Linked DNA regions of Homo sapiens: regions 1, 2 and 4 are each linked to region 3. The links are contacts of gene promoters, found by promoter capture Hi-C in blood cells and fetal thymus (Javierre and others, 2016). All regions are on one chromosome and are shown on one strand. Each heading gives the region's core, a stretch centred on a gene start or on the middle of the fragment in contact. The rest is flanking DNA. Distances are from core to core; before and after follow the strand shown.

Region 1 (2,709 bases), core at 135-2,634, 110 kb before region 3:
AGGATCATTAAGAGACTACTATGAACAATTATATGTTAACAAACTTGATAACCTTGAAGGAATGGATAAATTCCTAGAAATATACAACCTACCAAGCCTGAATCATAAGGCAATAGAAAGTTTAAACAGATCTATAATGAGTAAGGAAATTGAATCAGTAATCAAAGACCTCCTAACAAAGAAAAGCCCAGGACCTGGTGGCTTCTCAGGCAAATTCTACCAACCAAACATTTAAATAAGAATTAATATGAATTCTTCTCAAACTCATCCAAAAAACTGAAGAGGAGGGAATACTTCCAAACTTATTGTATGAGGCAAGCACTATCCTGACACTAAATCCCAACAAACACACCATGAGAAAAGATCACTACATGCCAATTTCCCTATTGAACATAGATCCAAAATCCTAAATAAAATACTAGCAAACTGAATTCAATAGCACAAAAGGGTCATACGCCATGACCATGTGGGCTTTATTCCTGGCATGCAAGGATGGCTCAACATATGCAAATCAATAAATGTGATGCACCACATTAACAGAATAAGGAATAAAAATAACATGATCTTATCAATAAGAAAAGAAAGCATTTAATAAAACTAAACATCTGTCTTAGCTTATTTGGTATAACAAATAACATAGACTGGATGGGTTATAAGCAATAGAAATTTATTTCTCATAGTTCTGAAGACTTGTGACATCCAAAATCAAGGTGCAAGCAGATTCAATATCTGGTGAGAGCCTATTTTCTGGTTCATAGGCAACCATCATTTTGCTTTTGTCTAAGGGCACTAATCCTATTAATGATGGCCACACTCTCATGACCTAAACACCTTCCAAAGGTCCCATCTACAAATACCATCACACAAGGAATTAGGCTTCAACATATGAATCTGGGGAGGACACAAACATTCAGGCCACAGGAATAGCCACTCATGATTAAAAACCCTCAACAAACTAGAAATACAGGGAAATTACATCAACATGATAAAGAACATTAAAAAAAGTGTCTAGTTAACATCATACCCAGTGGTGAAAATTTGATTTTACCACTAAAATTAGGAACAAGGCAAGGATGCCCACACTCACCACTTCTATTTCAACACAGTACTGAAAGTCCTAGCCAGAGCAATTGGGCAAGAAAAAGATAAGAAATGCATTCAAGTTAGAAATAAAGAAAAAAAAATTGTCCCTGTTTGCAATTGACATGATCTTATATATAAGAAACTTGTTATAAATACTCTACGAAAAAGTTATCAAATTTAATAAACAAATTTAGTAAAGTCATGGAATACAAAATGAACATACAAAAATTATTTGTTTCTATACACTAACAACAAACTATCTGAAAAAGAAATTAATCCTATTTACAATGGCATCAAAAAATAAAATGCTTACAAGTTAATTTAACCAAGAAGGTGAAAAATATGCACACTAAAACTATAAAACATTGACGAAAGAAAGTTAAGACAAAAATCAATGGAAAGATATCCCATATTATGGATTGAAAGAATATTTTTAAAGGTCCATACTATTCAAAGTGATCGATAGAGTCAATGTAATTCCTACCAAAATCCCAATGGCATTTCTTACAGAAATAGAAAAAACAATACTAAAATTAATATGAAGTCACAAAAGACCTCAAATATCCAAGACAATCTTGAGCATAAACAACAAAGGTAGAGGTATCACACTACCTGACATCAAAATACACCACAAAGGTATACTCAGCAAAACAGCATGACACTGACATAAAAACAGAGACATTGACCAATGGAACAGAATACAGAGCTCAGAAATGAACCCATGCATTTACAATCAACTAATTTTCTTTTCTTTTTTTTTTTTTTCCAGACGGAGTCTTGCTCTGTTACCCAGGCTGGAGTGCAGTGGCATGATGTAGGCTCACTGCAACCTCTTCCTCCCAGGTTCCCCCATTCTCCTGCCTCAGCCTCCCGAGTAGCTGGAACTACAGGTGCCCACCACCATGCCTGGCTAATTTTTTTTTTTTTTTTTTTTTTTTTTTTTTTTTTTTTTGAGACGGAGTCTCGCTCTGTCGCCCAGGCCGGACTGCGGACTGCAGTGGCGCAATCTCGACTCACTGCAAGCTCTGCTTCCCGGGTTCACGCCATTCTCCTGCCTCAGCCTCCCGAGTAGCTGGGACTACAGGCGCCCGCCACCGCGCCCGGCTAATTTTTTGTATTTTTAGTAGAGACGGGGTTTCACCTTGTTAGCCATGACGGTCTCGATTTCCTGACCTCATGATCCACCCGCCTCAGCCTTCCAAAGTGCTGAGATTACAGGCATGAGCCACCGCGCCCGGCCAACAATCAACTAATTTTCAACAAAGGTGCCAAGGGCATACAATGGGGAAAGGACAGTCTTTTTAACAAATGGTGTTAAGAACACTGGATATCCACAGGCAAAAGAATGAAACTGAGCCTTTATCTCAAACCAAATACAAAAATCAAAAGTGCTGGGCCGGGTGCAGTGGCTCACGCCTGTAATCCCAGCACTTTAGGAGACTGAGGCGGGTGGATTACCTTAGATCAGGAGTTCAAGACCAGCCTGGCCAACATGGTGAAACCCCGTCTCTATTAAATATACAAAAAAGTAGCCAGGCATGGTGGCGGAGGCCTGTAATCCCAGCTACTTGGGAGGCTGAGGCAGGAGAATCGCTGGGACCCGGGAGGTGGAGGTTGCAGTGAGCT
Region 2 (2,700 bases), core at 132-2,631, 110 kb after region 3:
AGGATCACTTGAGGCCAGGAGTTCCAGACCAGCCTGGGCAAAATAGTGAGACCCCTGTCTCTACAAAAAAAAAAAAAAAAAAAAATTAGCCAGGCATGGTGGTGTATGTACCTATAGTCCCAACTAATCGGGAAGCTGGCGGGAAGACTGCTTGAGCCCAGAAGGTTGAGGCTGCAGTGAGCCATGATCACTGCACTCCAGCCTGAGCAACAGAGCAAGACCGTCTCCAAAAAAAAACAAAAAACAAAAAAAAACTTGTGTTAACGTGTTAAACTCGTTTAATCTTTACAGTGATTTATGAGGTGGGTACTATTATTATCCCTATCTTGATGATAGGGACAGAGTGGCTAATTAGTATGCCTGAGATCACACAGCTACTGCAGGAGGCTCTCAGGATTTGAATCCACCTGGTCCATCTGGCTCCAGCATCTATATGCTTTTTTTTTTGTTGGTTTGTTTTTGAGACGGACTTTCGCTCTTGTTGTCCAGGCTGGAGTGCAATGGCACAATTTCGGCTCACCACAACCTCCACCTCCCAGGTTCAAGTGATTCTCCTGCCTCAGCCTCCCGAGTAGCTGGGATTACAGGCATGCGCCACCAGGCCTGGCTAATTTTGTATTTTTAGTAGAGACAGTGTTTCTCTATGTTGGTCAGGCTGGTCTCGCACTCCCGACCTCAGGTGATCTGCCTGCTTTGGCCTCCCAAAGTGCTGGGATTACAGGCGTGAGCCACCATGCCCGGCCAGCATCTATAATATATGCTAAACCTTACCCACAGCTGCCTCTGTCTTGGGGTCAGGGTTCTTGAATGGTCTGGGCCAGCCTGAGTTAGGAGTGGGAAGAGGAAGAGGAGGCACGCGCCAAAGTGTTCTTCCCGCCTGACCGAGTCCTCTGCGCCTATGAGGAAGGTGGGCACCGCTGTCACCCTGTTTCCCAGGAAGCCAGCAGGCCCAGGGAGATACTGGGATTTGCCAAAGGCTCACAGCGAGCAAGCAGCAGTGGGTGCTGGCTCCTCACCACTCAGCCTGGCACACACTGTCTCTGAGCAGACCTGGGAGAAGGCATGTGAAACCCACCTAGCCCTGGCTGGAAGAGAAGTGGGGGAGTGGAAATGAAAAGTGGGGACTGGGAGGAGCTGCCCACGTGCCCTCCATGGTTCCAGGATGGCACTTTCATGCTGGGAGTGAGCTTGCCCTGTGCCAGGCTGTCATTGAGACGTTTTCCATTCAACAACTGTTTCTCAGACAAGGCACAGGCAGGTTAGCTCTCCCAGGCCACTCAAGTAGTAAGGAAACAGATTTAAACCCAGACAATTTGGCTCCACGGCTAAGGCCCAGAGAGGGGTGGTGACAAGCCTAGGGTCACACAGCCACAGCCCCAGAGCTAGGAACTGCTGGCTAGGGCAAGCAGACAGCTGAATCCTAGCCAACTGGAGGTGGAGCAGAGGTGGAGCCAGGGAGACCCAGGTGGCCTCTCTCAGAGTGGAGCACAGGTGGCAGAGTGGCCCGGGGCAGCATGAAGTGGTGCTGGGGCCCAGTGCTGCTCATCGCGGGTGCCACAGTCCTCATGGAGGGTAAGCCGCCATGTGCTGGGGTATGGGTGTGGCCTGGTGGGGGCTCAGGGGCCATCTCTGCCCCAGCAGTCCCTGCTTCTTGGTGGGGGGACCGCCTGTGGGCGACAGTCCACCAGTGGGGATGTAACTCCGTAGGACTCTGTGGGGTGGTATATGTGGCCACCTGTGTCAACATGGATGAGATTTTCTCGGGCCAGCTGCAGTTTGCGTTGGCGGGGCCTGTGGTCTTGTGTGTGTGTGAGGTGCTGCCTGCGTGTGTCCTGTGCCTGCCTCCCCCTCGACTTCCACAATGACGTCAGGCAAACTCTGGGCTCCTCTGGCCTCAGTTTCCCTTTCTTTTCATCCATCCTCTGGGCAGCCTGGCTCAGCTGTCTCATGGGGTGCCTGTGTGCCTGTGAGGGGCGGTGGGCAGGGGCCCTCTCTCTGGCGGGCTCTCAGACAGTTTCTGGGAAGGTGGGGAAGACTGAGTCTCTAGACCAGGGTGAGGTAAGTCTCCATTTCTTGGGGCCCTCCCCACTTGGAAATGATGCAGGCCTCTAATCCTTCCTCTTAGGCCTCTGCTGCTAAGAGGACAATTAAGCTAATGCTCTCTACACACACAGGCCGCCTGGCTGACTCAGTGGCGGGGGCAGGAGTTGGGGGTTCTGAAGCCTGGAGGAGGGCTGGCCTACTCCCAAGCTGAACCCCAAGCCCCAGAGTGCTGAGCACAGCTGAAGGAGAATTAATTACTGAGTGTGCACACTGAATAGGTTCCAATAAAAGCTGTCTCGGCCTCATATAAATATTTTCATTCTGGGAGGGGCTGGTAAGGTAATCAGAGTCACAGGCAAGGACCCTGGGCCCGCCCCCCAGCCCATCCCCTCTCCTCCCCAAAGCTAGGCAGGCCTGGAGTCCCTGCATCTTACCTGTGTCTCTCTCTTCCCAGGTCTTCAAGCCGCTCAGCGTGGTAAGGTCTGGGGACACGGGGCCTAGGTCTTACTTGGGTCTGGGTTGGGACTGGGGTGAGGTCAGGACAGGTATCTGCTGTCAGTGTGACTAACTCCTTTCCACAGCCTGTGGACAGCGTGGCCCCGGCCCCCCCAAGCCTCAGGAGGGCAACACAGTCCCTGGCGAGTGGCCCTGGCAGGC
Region 3 (2,700 bases), core at 147-2,646:
ATTACAGGCATGAGTCACCGTGCCCGGCCCATCCTGGTTGTCTTGTTTGTTTTTGAGACAAGGTGTCTGTTGCCGAGTGGCACAGAGTGCAGTGGCACAATCATAGCTCACTGCACCCTCAACCTCCTGGGCTCAAGTGACCCTCCGGCCTCAGCCTCCCAAAGCACTGAGATGACATGCGTGATGAGCCACTGCACCCAGCCATGCTGGAAGCTTTTGAATACAACATGCTGCAGGCATCACAGCCTCATTCATTCCTTCACTCAGCAAATCTTTACTCAGCACCTAATGTGTTCCAGATACATTTTTTTTTTTCAGATGGAATCTAGCTCTGTCACCCAGGCTGGAGTGCAGTGGTGCAATCTTGGCTCACTGTAGCCTCTGCCTCCGAGGTTCAAGCGATTCTCATGCCTCAGCCGCCCTAGTAGCTAGGATTACAGGCGCCCTCCACCACACACAGCTATTTCCAGGTACATTCTTGACGCTAGGAATTCAGCAAAGAATAAGACAGTTAAGGTCTCCGATGCTCATAGGCCTCACATTTTAGAGAGGGATGAATGTCCAATAAGCATATAAACGTATAATATGTCAGGGTCGTATGACTACAAGGAACAGTGATTGTTACAACCCAGATGAGAGGGAAAAATAAAGGATTCCAAATATCCCCCTTGGGAAGTAGAGTCAGGATTCAAACAAAGAACTGTATGGCTTCAAGTTCATGGTCTTTAATCTCCTGGAGGCTGTCTCTCTTTCTTTTTTCTTTTTTTTAATCAGTGTTGGGATCAAATTCTGGCTCCCCTAGGAAGCATCTGGCAAGGTTTCGGGAGCCATCGGGTTGGCCATGTTATGCTGGAATATTTATAAGCACCGGAGGGTTATCCCCATGTCGTAGAAAATGAAACTGAAGCTCAGAGAGATTTGCACTCTCTGCCCTTTTGTACAACTCATTTTTCCCCAGTATGTGGAATTGAGGGAGCTTCACGCTTCTAGCTGTCATGATTCCAAGATTCTACGACATGTGGGAGAGGATCCTAAGGTTCGGGGAACCGCGGAGGTTTCGGGGTTCTAGAAATCCGAGGTTCTAAGCCTAGGTGCTCCAATAAACCCAGTGAGAGCCAGCCCAGGTTTCCGGTCTGTACCCGCTGGTGCAAGCCCAGAGACAAGCAGGCGCCACCCATGAGCCCCTCTGCGGCCCCCTCCCGGGTCCCACCTCGCAGGCCAGCTGGAGGGCGCGATCCTGGCGTCCCCCGACGGCCTGGGGCCCCAATCCAGAGGCCTGGGTGGGAGGGGACCAAGGGTGTAGTAAGGAAGCGCCTTTTGCTGGAGGGCAACGGACCGGGGCGGGGAGTCGGGAGACCAGAGTGGGAGGAAGGCGGGGAGTCCAGGTTCCGCCCCGGAGCCGACTTCCTCCTGGTCGGCGGCTGCAGCGGGGTGAGCGGCGGCAGCGGCCGGGGATCCTGGAGCCATGGGGCGCGCGCGCGACGCCATCCTGGATGCGCTGGAGAACCTGACCGCCGAGGAGCTCAAGAAGTTCAAGCTGAAGCTGCTGTCGGTGCCGCTGCGCGAGGGCTACGGGCGCATCCCGCGGGGCGCGCTGCTGTCCATGGACGCCTTGGACCTCACCGACAAGCTGGTCAGCTTCTACCTGGAGACCTACGGCGCCGAGCTCACCGCTAACGTGCTGCGCGACATGGGCCTGCAGGAGATGGCCGGGCAGCTGCAGGCGGCCACGCACCAGGGTGAGCCGCCCCCGTTCCCCTCCACCCCGTCTTTCCCCTCCACCCACACCAGCGCTTACCCCGCGGGCTCTTCCGCTTTCTGTTCCTCCTACCCCTAAACAAAGCTGCTCTACCGGAAAGGAGGCTCCCCACGCTTGGCCTACCGACCAACGGGACCCCGGCCCCACGGCGGGAAGGGAAGGGAAGGGGATCACTTGGCCCATATCCTTCCAGGCTCTGGAGCCGCGCCAGCTGGGATCCAGGCCCCTCCTCAGTCGGCAGCCAAGCCAGGTGAGGCCTCCACACCCAGCCCGGCCCCACCGCACTCCTGCACAGCCTGCATCTGTGCTCCCGCAACCAGGGCAGGGCAGGGCAGGGCAGGCACGGCTTGGCAACCCTGCGCACCCCACCCACCAACCCACACCCTGCGGGGGAAGGGAGACAATATTACCCTCATCCCACTGCATGTGGGGTCCTGGTGGCCGCCCCCTGGAGCCCTGCCCCTAGGCTTGCAGAGGAATTCCTGAAGAACTCAAGTTCAGCAGGGACAGGCCCCACACCCTGGCTGCTGGCTCATGTTCTCCTCCCACCCCCAGGCCTGCACTTTATAGACCAGCACCGGGCTGCGCTTATCGCGAGGGTCACAAACGTTGAGTGGCTGCTGGATGCTCTGTACGGGAAGGTCCTGACGGATGAGCAGTACCAGGCAGTGCGGGCCGAGCCCACCAACCCAAGCAAGATGCGGAAGCTCTTCAGTTTCACACCAGCCTGGAACTGGACCTGCAAGGACTTGCTCCTCCAGGCCCTAAGGGAGTCCCAGTCCTACCTGGTGGAGGACCTGGAGCGGAGCTGAGGCTCCTTCCCAGCAACACTCCGGTCAGCCCCTGGCAATCCCACCAAATCATCCTGAATCTGATCTTTTTATACACAATATACGAAAAGCCAGCTTGAACTTGTGTGTTTTCCTGCTTCTAGCCTGCTG
Region 4 (2,700 bases), core at 33-2,532, 77 kb after region 3:
CTGGAGCTGCCGGCGCAGCCGCCCTCAGTCTCCATGCCTGCCTCTGCCTCTCACCGGGCCCCTGCCCAGCTCGGCCCGGCCGGCCCAGCCTCACCAAGTGGAAGCGGTAGCTCTTCTCATATTTCATGTACTTGAGGCAGTACTCGCAGAGCCAGAGCTTGGGCTGTTTCCCATAGTCTTCGGGGAATGGTGAGAAATACCAGGCATCAATTTCGTAGTTCCCGATGTGGATCTTGTCCACATACTTCACCTTGGTGATCTGCAGGCAGGGTGGGAGTGAGGCACAGTGCACGGCTCAGCAGGGGCTCCTCGGCAAGGGGAGACGGGGGACCTGCAGGCAGCTTCCCAGCCCCACTTACCGCCTCATGCTCCTTCTCCAAGGCTGCTGTGGTGGGGTCCATCTCTGCATAAGTCTGGGCCAGGAAAGAAAAGTGGGCAGAGGTGAACAGAAGTGGTGACCAGGCTGTCCCTCCCGTCAGGACCCACAAGGCTTCCCTGCCGTCTACCAGACCTCATTCCTGGATGGCAATAATAACCACACCAATAGCTAACCTATCTGACTTGGTTCTGAAGCTGGCTGGTCCAGACTCCTCTCACACCCACCCGCCCCACCCCCGATATCCCAGACATCCCTGATGTCCAAGTTTGGACCTTTTGCCAGATGAACAGGGTTAGGATCAGGATGGGGCTTCAGCTGCACGATGGGGGGCAATCCAGCTCTGCCAAAGTTGTGAGACTCAAATGAAATAACAGATTTGCCTTCCAGGCCCAGCGTAAGAACTGTTACTACCTCCCCGATGTTCCTGGACCCCTTTCCTGAGGACCAGACCCTGCCTGCCCATGCGACTGCCCCAGAGGTCCCTCCCACAGGGACAGCGGACTCAAGATGTGCAGAAAGGACCTCATCACTCCTCCCTGCAAACCTGCGCCTCCTCCTGGGTTGCTCATTTTACTGGGAACATCACCCTTGGTCCCAGTGTCCAAGACCCATAACTAGGCTTGCCTCAGACTACTCTCTCTCCCTCGGCCTGGCCAAGTCCTAATACAGTGGATGTCGAGTCTACTTCTGACATCTCTGGAATTGGGCCCTCTCTGGAATTCTCCTCTCTGTCCTGCTCCAGGTAGTCATGGCCCCATCTCAGGTCTGGACAATTTACTAGGCCGCCTCAGACTCCCTGCCTCCAGCCCCAGCCTCCTCATTGCTATCAGCAGCCCCCTTTTAGCGGCCTTCATGCTTCTGCACAAACAGCTCCTTCTACCTGGAGAATGCCCTTCCTTCTCTCACTGCCAGCAGAAAACACTTCCTCAGCCTGGCACGGAGCATGAGTCAGGTGAGTCCATGATGCTTTGTGATCTATCCTTTGTCACTGTTGTTATTGTGCTCTTTCCCATCCTTCAAGGCTTGAGATTCTTACCACCCCCTCCAGGAGGCCTGACTGGATTCTTCCCATCCAGAAAACATTCCCTCCTTCCCAAGTTCAGCGAGAAGTGGTCAACAGGGCAACACTGTCCAAGTATGCCCACCTGGGTTCCTCTATTTTTCAAGTCCTTAGAAAGCAGAGACTAAGAGTCACACCACACTCACAACACATCCTGCTCCTAGGCCAGACCCTGTGGGAGGAACCCAGTACAGCCTGACAATGGAAGGGGGACCCAAGACGGTCCATGACCTACACCAGGGCAGACAAGGCCCTGCCCTGTAGCTGAGAAGGGAGGAAGGAGCCAGTGCTTTACCCAGAACCCCCTCCACAAAGCACTGTGCCTATATGTTTATATGGCCTCATTTAATCCTTTCAGTAACCCTTACATAGAGTGTTATTTCTTTTTTTTTTTTTTTTTTTTTTGAGACGGAGTCTCACTCTGTTGCTCAGGCTGGAGTACAGTGGCACCATCTCGGCTCACTGCAACCTCCGCCTCCCAGGTTCAAGCAATTCTCCTGCCTCAGCCTCCCAAGTAGCTGGGACTACAGGCACATGCCGCCACATCCAGGTAATTTTTGTATGTTTAGTAGCAATGGAGTTTCGCCATGTTGGCCAGGCTGTTCTCAAACTCCTGACCTCAGGTGATCAACCAGCCTCGCACTCCCAAAGTGCTGAGATTACAGGCGTGAGCCACTGCACCCAGCTGCGTTATTTCAATTTTACAGAGTAGTAAACAGGCAGGGCAAGGTGAGGTCCCTTACCCTCGGGGACTAGTGAGCTGCCATTTATTCCAAGTGGCAAGCACGGCACAGACATGTTTTTTTTTTTTTCTTCTGAGATAGACTCTCACTCTGTCGCCCAGGCTGGAGTGCAGTGGGGAGATCTCAGCTCACCACAACCTCTGCCTTCTGGGCTTAAGTGATTCTCCTACGTCAGCCTCCCAAGTGGCTGAGACTACATGTGCCTGCTACCATTCCCAGCTAATTTATTTTGTTTTTTGAGATGAAATTTTGCTCTTGTTGCCCAGGCTGGAGCAATGGTGCAATCTTGGCTCACTACAACCTCCACCTCCTGAGTTCAAGCGATCTTCCCACCTCAGTGTCCCAAGCAGCTGGGATTACAGGCGCCCACCAGCAAGCCCGGCTAATTTTTTGTATTTTTGGTAGAGATGGGGTTTCACCATGTTGGCCAGGCTGGTCTTGAACTTCTGACCTTCAGATGATCCACCCACCTTGGCCTCTCAAAGTGCTGGGATTACAGGCATGAGCCATAGCCTTTT

The links. Contacts are between HindIII fragments. The CHiCAGO score rates a contact against its expected background, and 5 or more counts as called.
Region 1: a contact is called between a fragment that was not itself captured here and the fragment with the promoter of PYCARD in region 3, in 8 of 17 cell types (M2 macrophages, M0 macrophages, M1 macrophages and 5 more). The highest score is 16.8, in M2 macrophages.
Region 2: the fragment with the promoter of PRSS53 here is called in contact with the fragment with the promoter of PYCARD in region 3 in 1 of 17 cell types (neutrophils); the score reaches 5.3 in neutrophils.
Region 4: a fragment that was not itself captured here is called in contact with the fragment with the promoter of PYCARD in region 3 in 1 of 17 cell types (M0 macrophages); the score reaches 7.8 in M0 macrophages.

The regions. Positions count from the first base shown.
Region 1 is chr16:31,315,527-31,318,235 of GRCh38, reverse strand. The region is part of intron 14 of ITGAM (integrin subunit alpha M); the gene reads right to left. Among named protein-coding and RNA genes, the nearest start is that of ITGAX, 38 kb to the left of the region's middle. The HindIII fragment of the contact is 2,960 bases long and covers 1-2,709 here.
Region 2 is chr16:31,087,624-31,090,323 of GRCh38, reverse strand. It overlaps PRSS53 (serine protease 53), which reads left to right and starts at 1,381. Exons shown (of 11, transcript NM_001039503.3): 1 at 1,381-1,572; 2 at 2,498-2,518; 3 at 2,625-2,700. The coding sequence starts at 1,515. RefSeq lists an enhancer at 1,204-1,704. The HindIII fragment of the contact is 23,145 bases long and covers 1-2,700 here.
Region 3 is chr16:31,201,456-31,204,155 of GRCh38, reverse strand. It overlaps PYCARD (PYD and CARD domain containing), which reads left to right and starts at 1,396. Exons shown (of 3, transcript NM_013258.5): 1 at 1,396-1,739; 2 at 1,953-2,009; 3 at 2,315-2,670. The coding sequence starts at 1,466. The coding sequence ends at 2,571. PYCARD-AS1 (PYCARD antisense RNA 1) reads right to left here and starts at 2,271. Exons shown (of 2, transcript NR_102400.1): 1 at 2,170-2,271; 2 at 704-1,696. RefSeq lists a silencer at 1,046-1,405 and enhancers at 1,516-1,745, 1,935-2,565. The HindIII fragment of the contact is 5,508 bases long and covers 216-2,700 here.
Region 4 is chr16:31,124,748-31,127,447 of GRCh38, reverse strand. It overlaps KAT8 (lysine acetyltransferase 8), which reads right to left. Exons shown (of 11, transcript NM_032188.3): 4 at 360-413; 5 at 95-259. Among named protein-coding and RNA genes, the nearest start is that of KAT8, 8.4 kb to the right of the region's middle. The HindIII fragment of the contact is 7,764 bases long and covers 1-2,700 here.